Linked DNA regions of Homo sapiens: all the other regions are linked to region 1. The links are contacts of gene promoters, found by promoter capture Hi-C in blood cells and fetal thymus (Javierre and others, 2016). All regions are on one chromosome and are shown on one strand. The core of a region is centred on a gene start or on the middle of the fragment in contact, and the rest is flanking DNA. Distances in the headings are between cores, read along the strand shown.

The links. The method cuts DNA at HindIII sites, captures the fragments that hold promoters and counts their contacts. A CHiCAGO score of 5 or more calls a contact.
Region 2: a fragment that was not itself captured here is called in contact with the fragment with the promoter of PTPRB in region 1 in 1 of 17 cell types (naive CD8 T cells); the score reaches 6.4 in naive CD8 T cells.
Region 3: a contact is called between a fragment that was not itself captured here and the fragment with the promoter of PTPRB in region 1, in 5 of 17 cell types (naive CD4 T cells, naive CD8 T cells, activated CD4 T cells and 2 more). The highest score is 7.2, in naive CD4 T cells.

Annotation. Positions count from the first base shown.
Region 1 is chr12:70,634,191-70,638,884 of GRCh38, reverse strand. PTPRB (protein tyrosine phosphatase receptor type B) reads left to right here and starts at 1,456. Exons shown (of 34, transcript NM_001109754.4): 1 at 1,456-1,544; 2 at 2,819-3,214. The coding sequence starts at 1,490. PTPRR (protein tyrosine phosphatase receptor type R) reads left to right here. Exons shown (of 14, transcript NM_002849.4): 14 at 1-806. The HindIII fragment of the contact is 1,737 bases long and covers 675-2,411 here.
Region 2 is chr12:69,966,422-69,970,566 of GRCh38, reverse strand. No RefSeq gene overlaps it. Among named protein-coding and RNA genes, the nearest start is that of MYRFL, 140 kb to the right of the region's middle. RefSeq lists a silencer at 3,492-3,692. The HindIII fragment of the contact is 8,608 bases long and covers 1-4,145 here.
Region 3 is chr12:69,945,871-69,950,165 of GRCh38, reverse strand. All of the region lies in intron 19 of MYRFL (myelin regulatory factor like), which reads right to left. Among named protein-coding and RNA genes, the nearest start is that of MYRFL, 120 kb to the right of the region's middle. The HindIII fragment of the contact is 1,502 bases long and covers 2,105-3,606 here.

The sequences.
Region 1 (4,694 bases), core at 207-2,706:
AGAATGTATGTATGTAATATTCAGTAATAAATGTCATCAGGTGATGACTGGATGAGCTGCTGAAGACATTCGTATTATGTGTTAGATGCTTTAATGTTTGCAAAATCTGTCTTGTGAATGGACTGTCAGCTGTTAAACTGTTCCTGTTTTGAAGTGCTATTACCTTTCTCAGTTACCAGAATCTTGCTGCTAAAGTTGCAAGTGATTGATAATGGATTTTTAACAGAGAAGTCTTTGTTTTTGAAAAACAAAAATCAAAAACAGTAACTATTTTATATGGAAATGTGTCTTGATAATATTACCTATTAAATGTGTATTTATAGTCCCTCCTATCAAACAATTACAGAGCACAATGATTGTCATTGGGTATATATGTATTTACTCTCTATTATTGGGCATAAAGGTGGCTTCTGCTCCAGAACTCTATCCACTGTATTTCCACATCGTGAGTCATTTTACTTTAAAAGGGAAAAACAAATTTGTAGCAACTCTGAAGTATCAAGAGTTTTAACTACTTGTCTCTCTTTTGCTAAGAAGGGATTTTTGAATATGCTATCTACCTGGAATCTCTCTCTCAACAAAAGGTATATGCCTTCAGGAATGATATAATCTGTCCCATTTTCGAGGCTCCTTATAAGGACATTTCCATGTATGTCCTTACATTTCTGAAAGCTTTCAATCTTCAAGAGACAAAAAAAATTAAAATAACTACCCTCAGCAAACACTAGCTGTTCTGCTCATATATGAATTTTTAATGCAGCAATGTTGACTTTGTTTCATACTGCCAATAAACTCTTAATACTAAATACTGAGTAAAGCATATTCTTTTTTTTTTTTCTATTTGGAAAGACGCCATCCTCTGTTTGGGGAAGACCAAAGTAGATAATGTGATGGGTTTAATTTTAGTGTCTGCATCTCCCCAGTGAAGATGACGATCTCAAAATGTAATATTGTCATCACTTGGGAGATAATGATCTAGAAGTGCCATCATTATGTGGTTTTCCTCAATAGACTCGCAGCATATCATTATACAAACAGTACATGTTTATGTCTTTATATCACTTGTCATAGACCCTCATCAATTACATGGCTTATGTTTATTCAGCAGAATCACATCACCTGAAGAGATGTAATGTTTCAGGAACATTCAATTATCTGAGATTTCAATTCCTTTCTTTCTTCTTGAGGTTAAGAAGCAGTCACATGCCAAAGGAAAGGTAGGTGAGGTCTTAACGAGATTTACTCTGCTCTTGAAGGCTGGAATATTTTCTACATTAAAAAAAAGAGGTAATCATAATCCCTTCTTTCTAAGGAAACAGACAAAAGGACACTGGTGTAAAACTTCCCCAAACAATTCAATAGGAGGAAGTGCTCGTCACTGACTTTTCCCCCCACCATGAAGGCACATTTCCTTCCTAGTCTTTGCTTCTCTTATCTGGGAGAATTTTTTTTTTCCCCAAGCGAAGCATGAACAGTTGCTAAGTGGAAAATGGAGGCTGAATTTTACATGGTGATTCTTACCTGCTTGATCTTCAGGAACTCAGGTGAGTGGGTCTGCCTCAGTGTCCTGAGGCATTTCTTCAAGATCTAGCCAAGGAGTCCCTGGTCTTTGAAGTGTCTGAAATAAGGTAGAAGGGGCCAGGTCTCCATGGCAGTTTAGCCAAAGACGATGAAAAGCAGGAATAAAAGGAGCCAGCTATGCCCATACTGTTGAGATTTCTCTCCAAAAGAAAATAAATGCTCTCCTCTCATCCTCCAAATGCTTCAGGCAGCCCCTGAAATGATACATTTAGAGCAGAGCGTAAAGAACCCCGAGGAAAAGTTTGTATTATTATATAACAGTCTGTGGCTTTCCCCAAGCCTTTTTCCGACCCGGTTATAGTTTTATTTTCTTTTGTGTTGAAGAAAGAAAATTGAAGGAATATGATTAAAGGGGGTGAGGAAATGTAGTGTGTTTTATTTGGAAGTTGTCATTTGGGAGGGCTGAACATTTTCATGAGCGAGCTGGGCAATTTAAGTAAAACCTCATTGAAAATGGTTTCTGAGCCAGAGTATCTTGCTCTTTAATACTGATGTTTAGCAATTTGATGTTTAATTTTCTTACACTGGCACATGATGATTTTTAGAAAATCTATTCGTATTTGAGAGAAAACTGTAGATATTGTCATAAAATAGAGAAATGCTCCTCTCCACGACTAAAGGAAATTTAGTTTGTGATAATCAATACTTTCATTGGCTGCAATTAGCTAGGAGGTTGTGCTTGGAGAAGTGGGAAAATTTGTTTTATTTTTTGATAAATGTATGCAATTTTAAAAAATTGTTATTCAAACTATGAAATTTGTATATAAATACTGCAATGTGAATTTAAAGACTGGAAAAGGGGGTGCTTTTTTAAGGTAAGGGAGGAAGCTTATATCGAATATGTCAAATGGTTAAAAAGGGAGCTGAGCATTTCATAACTTCAGCATATCTAACTAATTGGGCTAAAATATACTATATACTTTGGATGGTTTTGTTTCTTTCCAAGCTTCCTTTCATTTTCCAATAAGAGGTGTGCTTTTTTCCCCTAAAGCATGTGAAAATTAAAAAAAAAAAAAAGATGGGGAGTTAAGTGTAACATATTGACATTTTATATCGTCAGCTTTGGAATTTTAAATCACATGTGTTAAATATGAGAATGTTCACTTGAAATGATAGAAATAACAAAATATAAGTAAAACTAGTGATTTTATTTAGCTCATTTGTGGGTGGGTTCTTCCGTTTTCTAATGGGCCTCATAATTTGCTACATAGTGCTTTATGAGCTTTTCATCTTCCAGAAGGGTTTCAGATTGTCCATGTCCAGAAACAACAGTGTCTTTTCAAAAATGAGAAAGTGGTCGTGGGCTCATGCAACAGGACCATCCAGAACCAGCAGTGGATGTGGACTGAGGATGAAAAGCTCCTTCATGTTAAATCTGCACTGTGCTTGGCCATCTCCAACTCTTCCCGCGGCCCCTCCCGCTCAGCCATCTTGGACCGCTGTTCCCAGGCACCCCGATGGACCTGCTATGATCAGGAAGGCTTCCTTGAGGTGGAAAATGCCTCTCTCTTTCTCCAGAAACAAGGCTCCAGAGTAGTGGTCAAGAAGGCCAGGAAATACCTCCATAGCTGGATGAAAATAGATGTCAACAAGGAGGGAAAACTGGTCAATGAAAGCCTCTGTTTACAAAAAGGTGAGCTATTCCTTTCAGAGCAAATCCTGAAAGTCTTTCTACTAAATATCTTGGGGGTTTTGTTTGTTTGTTTGTTTGTTTGTTTTACATTTAAGGGAAGTCCACATGCCCCAACATATTTCCTATGGAAGATTCATAAGCTAATGGAGGTGGATGGTGACGTGCCCAATGATGGAAAACTTCATGACCCTCATTAAAATAAGCCCAACTTTTTCTATTGCTTTTTCTTCCTTCCCTTCTTGTCTTGCTTCTTTTATTAATTCAACAACTATTTCATGAGCCTCTCTTCTCTGCCAGTTAAGCACTGTTAGATGTAGGAATATGGATGTAGGCATATACACAGCCTATATATGTAATGACTAAAGTCAGTAATCGGAAAATTATTAGATTTTATTGACAGACACTTCTATTTGCTAATTATAATAAATTATTAGAACATCAGAATGGTGCTTGATAAGACTGGAAGATAGTTGTGTTTTTGCAAATCTCTTGTATTGCTGTTTAGGGGTAGATATCTTTTGGAGGTAACACACTTTTGAAATGTTAAGAATCAATGGGCAGCCACAGATTTTTCTAATTTATTGACCATTAATGGATATAACCCAGATAATGGACACATGTAGAAAATATGTTATACACATGTGCAAGCTCCTGGTGCAGGACACAGTTCAGTCCTGAGCTAGGAATTTTTGCTTGTGGAATATATAGGCAGTTTAATCTTCTCTTGAAGTTAATCATGCAATTGTGTATTTACTCTTCTATTAGAGGTTTGCTTTAGAAAGTCATGAAAGATAAAACTGATGAATCACAATATATTAGGCACCAATGAACCTTACAAAGCATGGGAAAAGTTATCAAGAAACGAAGCGCCTCACTAAGAAGACAAATTTTTCAGGGTTAAGTAAATTGTCCCAGATAAATTAGCAGCAGATCTATGATTAGAGCCTAAGTTTTTTGACTCTTTGTTCAGTGTACATTTTACTATACCAGAGGTTCCCAAATGCTTGACCACAGACTTGCCCCATGGCTTGCCTAAGAATCACCTGGGGTAGAAAAGGGAGGGCTTACTAAAAATACACATTCCCGTAGCTAATGCATCCTGGGCTTAATTCCTAGGTGATGGGTTGATAGGTGCAACAAAGCACCACGGCACACGTTTACCTATGTAACAAATCTGCACACCCTGCACATGTACCCCAAAACTAAAAATAAAAATTTAAAAAAAAATACACATTCCCAGGATTCTTTCCCACCATTTTTTCCTCTACAACCACCTCCAAGATTCTGTTTCAGGAAATCTGGATTTGTGCATAATACTTGATATTTATTAATCACCAGAAAATTTTGATCCATAATCCAATATGGAGATCAGCATCCACTGTATTGTTAAGTCTTTTCCTTAGGTGTTGATTTGTGAGGCTTATATTAGTCTTTCCACCATGGTAATCTTTGGACAATTTTTTCTCACTCATTCATTCTG
Region 2 (4,145 bases), core at 837-3,336, 670 kb after region 1:
AAATACCCTTTACACAGACTTGAACAGTCTCAGCTTCCTAACTGCCAAAACGTCCTTTTAATACAATTATGAACCTGTTAAGACACTAGGGATTGGATAGATAGAATGTAAGAACTCCTTGACTTTTGGCTAGCTCAACTTCATTTTACATGCATGGACACAATACACACACACACACGCAGACACACACAGACACACACACACACACACAATTATTGTTCCTTCTTTTCACCAGTTATTTTCTCCACTTTCCATTCCCCTGATCAAAAATTACCCATCTAACATCTAAACGTATAGATTTTAATAACCTGTCAGTGTCATAATAGAAACAAAATGATTCCACTTGGAAATCACTATTTACAAAAAAAAATCTTTGCATTTCAAAAGTACTTTAAGTAGATGTCCTAAATTTGATTTAAGAAACAATCTGTTCCAGAAAGTCTGTGACTAAGATGTGAATGAAAAACTAAAACCCATTAATGAATTATTAGCACACAGATTGGTCTAAAACTTCAAAGGTCAGAGATCTGTTCTGAGCAGAAATGTGTCAGGGGAGAGAAAAATCTTTCAGCTGGAGAGTGTCTCACCTGCGGAGTATTCCAGTTGGGTTTGTGTGCTCCTCAAGAATAGTGGTATTTTAAGTTTTTTATCTGGTTGGTTGGTTTGGCTCTTGTCACAAAAGAAAAAAAAGTGAGTCTATAAAAGGACAGTAGCACTCTCTCCTTGAAAGTCTAGCTGCTGAGCACAAAGTCTCTGGGTGTAAGACATAGCATTACCTGGGACGACCCTGATCACCAGGATTCCAAGCCCAGAAACACAGGAGCTAAAGTAGAGCATATGTGTCCTGGGATCCATTGCTTTTCCAATACGAATTAGTTTTACCCTACCTCAGAGGTGGGATTATATAAAACACTATTTGATAACTTTGGAAAACCTGTCAGAAAGTGTCCCATATATTCACATGTATTTGTTTATATTTTGTTCTAAAATCTATATTCAACTATGATTCAAGCATGTCTGAAAATGAGGTGAGTTCCCAGGATCTTTGTACATGAAAAACCAAAACGCTTATCCCAGGAGAAGCAAGTAGAGGCCAGTAGCTTGGCTCTAGGACAAAAGCAGCTTCTGGGTGGGAGATATTTTTAACACAGTAGGGCCCAACTTCCACGTCAAGCGGCATTAAGTCAATTTAGGCTGAATCCTAGGAAGAGGAGGCTGCCAACAAAGAACTGGCTTAGCACAGCCCACCTTGAGGTGGAGGCCTGACACAGACCCAGCCCTCCAGTGGCAGTGAGAGCCCTCAACACTGGTTTGGCTAAAGCTGCCAAGGCACAGACACTGATGGCAGTAACAGCAGCACCTGTTTTGTGACATCTTCGGTAAGTGTTGATGTGTGAGCCACTAAGTTTGGTAATGGTAGTGACCAAAGATAATTCCCCAAGGAGCCACAAAAGAGAAAAGGAGAATGGCAACTGTCACATCACAACTAAGAATGGACCCTCAGGGACATCAGAACTATTTAAGGTGGGATTTGAGAGTGGTGGGATGGGGGAAAGGGATGAGTCCTCCAGAGTAGGTCACATTAGAGACGAGTTCCACAATTCGTATGAATTAAAATTATAAAAATTATGTAACTTTGTAATGGTATTAACAAACATTTGCTTTCCTCTGTCTACTCTAAGTCTAGTGAAAGATGGGAAGTAAGGAACAGAGTAGGAAAGTCTGAGTTTGTGGCAGCATGAACTATAAATCTGAGATTCAGCTATCCATATTTACAGAAGACCCAGACAGAATACTTCATGATGAGATCCATCATTCAATTGGCAGAATTTACTGCTCAAACCTTTCAATTAGGAATTGAATCTCCAGCTGTCTTAACTACCGCTGAAACCCCTGCAGCAGCAGTGAGCCACACACATGCCCCAAGCACAGGCCCTCCATTAACCAACTACTTTTTCCTTTGAAATTTTCCCAACAGGATTTTCACTCTTGCTCACTTCTTCATTAATGGATAACAGGGCTTCATCCAAGACCTATGGTTCAGATTTTCTTCTTCATCCTTTTCTTTCTGGATCACTGCTATGTTTGATTTAAAACCATAAGTTAGTGCTGTTAAAACAAATCCTTAAAAATCAAGACTGGATATGTTTGTGATGCTCAAGAAAGTGAGACCATGTAATTTCGCATTGACAGAATAGTGCTGAGGAAACCACTTGCGATCTGAAGTGAAAAGTCTTGAGTTTAAAATCCTACAGTTGTCACCTCCTAGTTGTATAGCCTCAAACAAGCCGCTTATCCTAAATCTTATGTAAAATAGGAATAATAATAATTTCTGCCTCTCAGAAATATGAGGACCAAATGAGATACACTGTCTTTACTGAAAATGCTTATAATTTTCTTCCCTACTTACAAAATCTATCCACCACCACCAACCCTAGCCTGAAAGAGGTAGCCTTACCGACTACATTTCCCTGGCCACAGCTGCTTAAACCCCACATGGATAGCTGAGCAAGGTTAAACCAGTCAGATTCTCTTTCATAGGAATTTAAAACTTGAGATACTGAGTCATTTAGCCCTGGAGAACCAAGCTGGAAGTTAATGGAGACTTGGGGTCCAAGACTACATTTTAGGGTGGCCATGATGGTTGCAAGCAAATGAGCAAGCAGAACAGGTGGTCTGAAGAAAGAAGAATGAGGCAGGCTTGTAGAGAGAAGCAGGCAGATGTCATGTGGACTTCTAAGGAGAGAGATGGTGAGATTAGCCTCTAGTGACTCTCTTAGTTCTCATGAAGCTCAGCTACACGTCCTACATTTGGTGTGCAATTCTTCTACATTCTTATATTATAAACCCACTGTTTGTTAGTTACTTTGAGTTTTTGTTCCTTGCCAAAAATAAAAATAAAATAGGAGAGAGAAATAATTGTAGAACTGTAAAATGAAAGCACTATACAAATACAAGATGTCTTTGATATCCACTTAGGACTTAGCGGCCATTAGGGAATGGAGGAGAGGTAAATGGAGGGAAGCCATTAGGGAATGGAGGAGAGCCACCTTCCAAACCCTGAATGATAACCAACAACCTCATAAATAAGGTATCAGCATTTGGAATCAGCCAGTTGGGCATCCTGCTTGCAAAGTGTTGAAAGAGTCTTCATAAGAGCCAGTATTCATCAGAACTCTTTTGGCAATGTGGCAAAATCCAAATTCAGCCTAACTAAAGAGAAATGGAAATGTGCAGTCCACCTAACTGCTAAGTCCATGGGGGACTTTCATGGGAATTTAAATGTAAATTTCTTATCTGGTTAAAGACCTGCCCTTCTCATATCATATCTTCTATTTTCATTTGTGTTGGCTTCATTCTCTGGCAGGCTGCCCACCATGATGGCAAGGTGGTTCTCAGAAGCTCCAGGCTTATTCTTGCCAGCTTAATAACGTCCACAGAGAGTACCTCTTTGCTTATGGTTTCAGTCAGACACCCAAGGATGAGTGTGACTGGCCTAACCTGGGTCATATGCTTACCCCTAAAGCAATCACTGTAGCCAAGGGAATGAAATGTTGTCTTTGCCAAAGCCTGAGTCATGTGTTCTTCTCTGGAGCGATGGGATGGTATCAGCCTCACCTGATTCATAGAGACTGAGCACTACGGCATGAGAGTTCACTAAAGGAAAAATCAGGGTGCTGCTACCAAAAGAAGGGGAAAGGCATGCAGGGAGAACTTAGATTCTCCCAGCTCTTCCCACCATGAACACCTGAGACTTAAAAATAGAAGTAAACTTTCTTTAGGAAGGAAAACTTTTTATTTATAAATGGGTGGAGTGACCAAAAGACTTGTGGCCCTTGCTCACTACACAAATTTTATCTCTATGGTAGCACAGAGAGACAGCAGTACCTGGGGATGAATCAGTCATTGTCCTCAGGCTCAGCCTCCCCACCCACAGTCTCATCGCCAGCTCACTGAGTCATCCCATGCTCCATCCAACATGTTTTGCTTTTCCCACAGTTTCCTTGAATCTCCTGGGACAGATGGCTGGCTTTTGGAGCTGAGGAAAGGAAGTGGTGTCTTTCAGAAATAAGAGTGCCTCTCCTGTTAGTAAAACTAACAGAAGAGCTGGCTTAAGATGGGAGAGGGTAGGAATTACTTTGCAG
Region 3 (4,295 bases), core at 1,606-4,105, 690 kb after region 1:
ATACAAGTAGAGTTTGTGGTCTCTAAAGATAAGCAAAACTTATAAAAAAAAAAATTGAGCATGCTTTCCCAATTGCTTAATAACTTGAACATGAAATGTTAGAGGAAATTCTGTGGGACATATATTTTTGCACTGAAGGATAACAATGATAATTACACCTACTATTTGTTAACACCTACTCTTCATTGAACATTGTTCTGAGTGCCTTACAAAAGTCCAAGAGTGAGGTTATCCCCGCTTGACAGATAAGCTAAGTGAGGCACTAAGGACTCAGCTTGTGGATAGGAATAAAGAGTTTCCAATTCAAACCATCTAATTCCAGAGTCCACAATTTTGCTATTCTGGGAAAATGTGAAATGTGATCCATGTAGGAAAAAAATTGAGCTTAAAGTCTAAGGCAGGGGTGTCCAGTCTTCTGGCTTCCCTAGGCCACACTGGAAGAAGAATTGTCTTGGGCCACACATAAAATACACTAACACTAATGATAGCTGAAGGGCTAAAAAAAAAAAAAATTACAAAAAAAAAATCTCATAATGTTTTAAGAAAGTTTACAAATTTGTGCTGGGCCACATTCAAAGCCGTCCTGGGCCGCATGTGGCCGGCCCATGGGCCGCGGGTTGGACAAGCTTGGTCTAAAGTAAGGCCTGAGATGCAGCCAGCTGAAGGGAGGAATCAGGCTGCTGGTGTGGGGCCAGAGCAGGCTTGCAGGGAGGGAGCCCAGGGAGTGGCTAGGCTCCTGTCATCACCCAAAAGGCATTTTAAATGCAATTTTGGAAAGGTAACCATTCAGATGAATGTTGTTAAGGCTATATTTTTAATGTATCTTTTTAAAGTAGATAGTGAAAGCAATCATTTAGTGGGTCGCTAAGTACACCTAACAAAATAACTTTATGAAGTTTTGGCAGTCTTTTTTTTTTTTTTAATTTGCAGATTTAGATCTATGTTCAAGTTTCAGGATAGAAAGCAAAAGCAACAGTACACAATACTTGGGGACAATCACTCCTAAACATCCCTATCCTGGTTACAACTCCTTTCACTAGGTGGAATGACTAGTTTACTTACCCATTCACCTAACTGTGAGCTCCTTGAAGACTACATCCTGTTCACTGTTGTATCCCAGATAGGGTAATGCTGGGCTCACAGTGGTGCTCAATGAATATGGGTGAAAGGATGGAAGGAAGAGAGCCAGGGAAAGAGTAAGGAAAAGAAGAGGGAAGACCAATTTAACCTCCAAAAAACTTTCCTCTTACACATTCACAGGGAAAGTTCCCAGGGGAAGGGTGCAGAGGGATGCTGAGAAAGAACATGGGAAGCTAGACTCCTTATTCTATTAGCAAAAGGAAGCAAGACAGAACTGGAAGGCAGGGCAAGTTTCTGAACCCAACATGGTGCTTTCCATTAAGAAGAAATGGGTCCTGATATATGAGGAGTTTCTAGAAAATTGAATATTTATTTTCCTTTACAAGTAAACACATATGCTGCCAAAAAGTCCTCCAGATTTCTTGGATTCTAGCTATTCCAGTAATAATTTTCAAACACGTCTCTACTATTAGTTTTGCTTAAGACTGCTTCCACAGAAGGTTGTAAATTTACAACGCAAATGAGGCATAAAGAGAAGTGGAAACCAGGACTTCTCTATCCTGTGTGTTTTCTTCTCCTACCTTTTGTCCTACTTGCCTGCTGAATTTGCAGAAAAAGAGCTCGTTATAAATTCTGGCAACAGAACTACAGATTTGTCTTCTTCCACAGAACTGTGTTTTCAGGTCCTGGAGACATAGAACCCTATGAATACAATTGAGTACCTGGTGGGGTAAGGTTTTTTTTAAAAAACAGCAATAAATAGGTGGGAATGAGGAAAGATAATCTTGCAGATCAGAATTATAAAAATGATTTTTCAAACGCAAGAAATAAGATTTAAATCTCCCATAAAACACCTTCCATTTGACACTTCTCTGAAACAAGACTATTTGACTCTGAAAGGCTGGTTATAAGAAACCCATAAATCTTCCAGTAGTCATACAGGAAGTCATAAAGTCATACTTTCAGCACCTTCTAGGGTTGATCTCATTTTACAAATGCCTTCCAGTGATATTCATTATAAGCTTCATATAGTACATCCCCTGCAGTTTTCATTATAAAGTTGGAGATATATTTCACAATTGGTAGATGAGCTCTCCCAACAAACTAAATTAGAAACTTCTGGAGAGTAAAGATTTAGGATGGTGCCCAAAAAAAGCATACTCCTGTCATGGTAGAAGGTGTATATTGCACTACTTGTAAGACTGTGTTGTACTTGTACTGGCTGAGTCCAGTACAGCATCTTGGATACATTTCTCTTCCCTTCACTGAACCAGACTCATGCACTATGAAGAAGCCAATGAGCCCCACCAGTCGATGGCTGAGTTCTTTAAAATGGGGGACCATTTTCTTCTGGCCATTCACTTTTCTCAGAGTCATGGTCTCCAAAACAAAATGAGCATGAATTCCAGATTTTTAAAAAATCTTCACCAACTCTAATATATTCTATAGAATTCCATAGATGCTTTTCTCCACAGGCTCTTTACTTTTTAATATCTAACTCTCCTGTCTACTTAAATCTTTACTGGTTCCATGGATTAAAATCTAATTCATCACATTCAGATGGTTCCTTAGAGTAGAAGCTCAATATTCCAAAATACTCACTTTCCACTTCCTGATTAGCCTTACCCAAACTTTTTATTAAGTGAGGGGGAGAGGGAGAGATAACCTTTCTGAAAGACACTTTACACAGATATGATCAACTTTGGCCCAAAAGAAGAATAATGACATGAGCTCAGCATGTCATAAAAATGTTGATTTCCCTTCACTTATTTTATTATAGTCTTACTCCTCAGGGAGGAGGCTCATAAATGTGTTTAGGGGTTTAGTAAACTGTTAGATATTACTCTGCATCCCACTGAGAGCTTTTCTAAGTTTTTTTTGTTACTCTTGAATTTCTTTTTTATTTTTATTCCTTAATTTTTAATTGGTCTTTAATGCTTTAGAAACATCTGGCTGAAAAGAATACTTTCCTAGACTTCTCCTCTTTTGTATTTAGAAGCCTGGTGTTATACAGTACCTTGAACAGAGGGGAAGAGTAAACCAGCAGCAGAAGAGAAGAGGCTTTGCTCAGACTCCAAAATATCCCACATCAGGGACATTGCAATGGACAGAGGCAAACTTGCCAGGAGGAGGCAGAAGGGGCCATAGAGTGGATACTTTCTGCACCTTCTAGAGTTGATCTCAGGTACATGCACAGCCCATGTCCAAATCAATGGAGGCAGGATAGCAAATGGGAAGGAATCCAGGACAGGGAAGTGGGGGACCCAGATTTCAATTCCAACTTTTCTAGAAACTCAACTGAGGAATCTTAAGCAAGGTCCAGTGCCTCCATTTCATCAGCTGCAAAATGGGTAATTTGGTATAAATCAGCAGTTCTCCTGACATGGGGTCCTTGGAACCTTGGGTGATTGCATAAAGGGGTCTGTGGTGTTGTCTGTAGACTTGAAAAGCAACATATCTCCTATAGATTTGTACTATTTTTCAAACGCCACTGTTGGAGTAATAAAAACAATTCAGTTAAAAGCTTAACTGAACTTATAGTTACATTTGTTCTTTATGTATTTTCTCAATCACATCATTGTAAAAGTAGGCTTATAGTGGATTCTCGGGGCCAAAAAGTCAGGTGCCACTTGCGTAGCTGTTCTCTGAGATTCTGTGACTAAATTTCCAAAAGTTTTTGGGTTTTCTGAAGACAAAAGTGAATCAAACATTTGAATTCTTTCCATTTTTCTCCAGTTGACAAAAGGAAGAGATAACAACTTTCCCAGTGTATCACAGAGCCTAGTAAGGCACAACATAAATTTCATTTGTAGTCAAAGAAGCAGTTAGTTCTGTCTAGGTGGACACAGCCTGGCACCATGGAGCAAATTTTCTTTCCTTGGGAATCACTTCTTTCTTTAGAAGTTTACATAGCTATAGAAACAAGATGAGCAGACACTCATCTTGTTTCTAGGCTACTGCTTTTAGGGGAACATTTCTAAAAACAATAATAAATTAGTATACATTTGGAAGAATTGTATATAATCTTATGGACATGATTACACTTGTAGCCCTTGATTAAGTTTCTATAATTTTTTTTTTTTTTTTTTTTTTTTTTTTGAGACGGAGTCTCGCTCTGTCGCCCAGGCTGGAGGGCAGTGGCGGGATCTCGGCTCACTGCAAGCTCCGCCTCCCGGGTTCACGCCATTCTCCTGCCTCAGCCTCCCAAGTAGCTG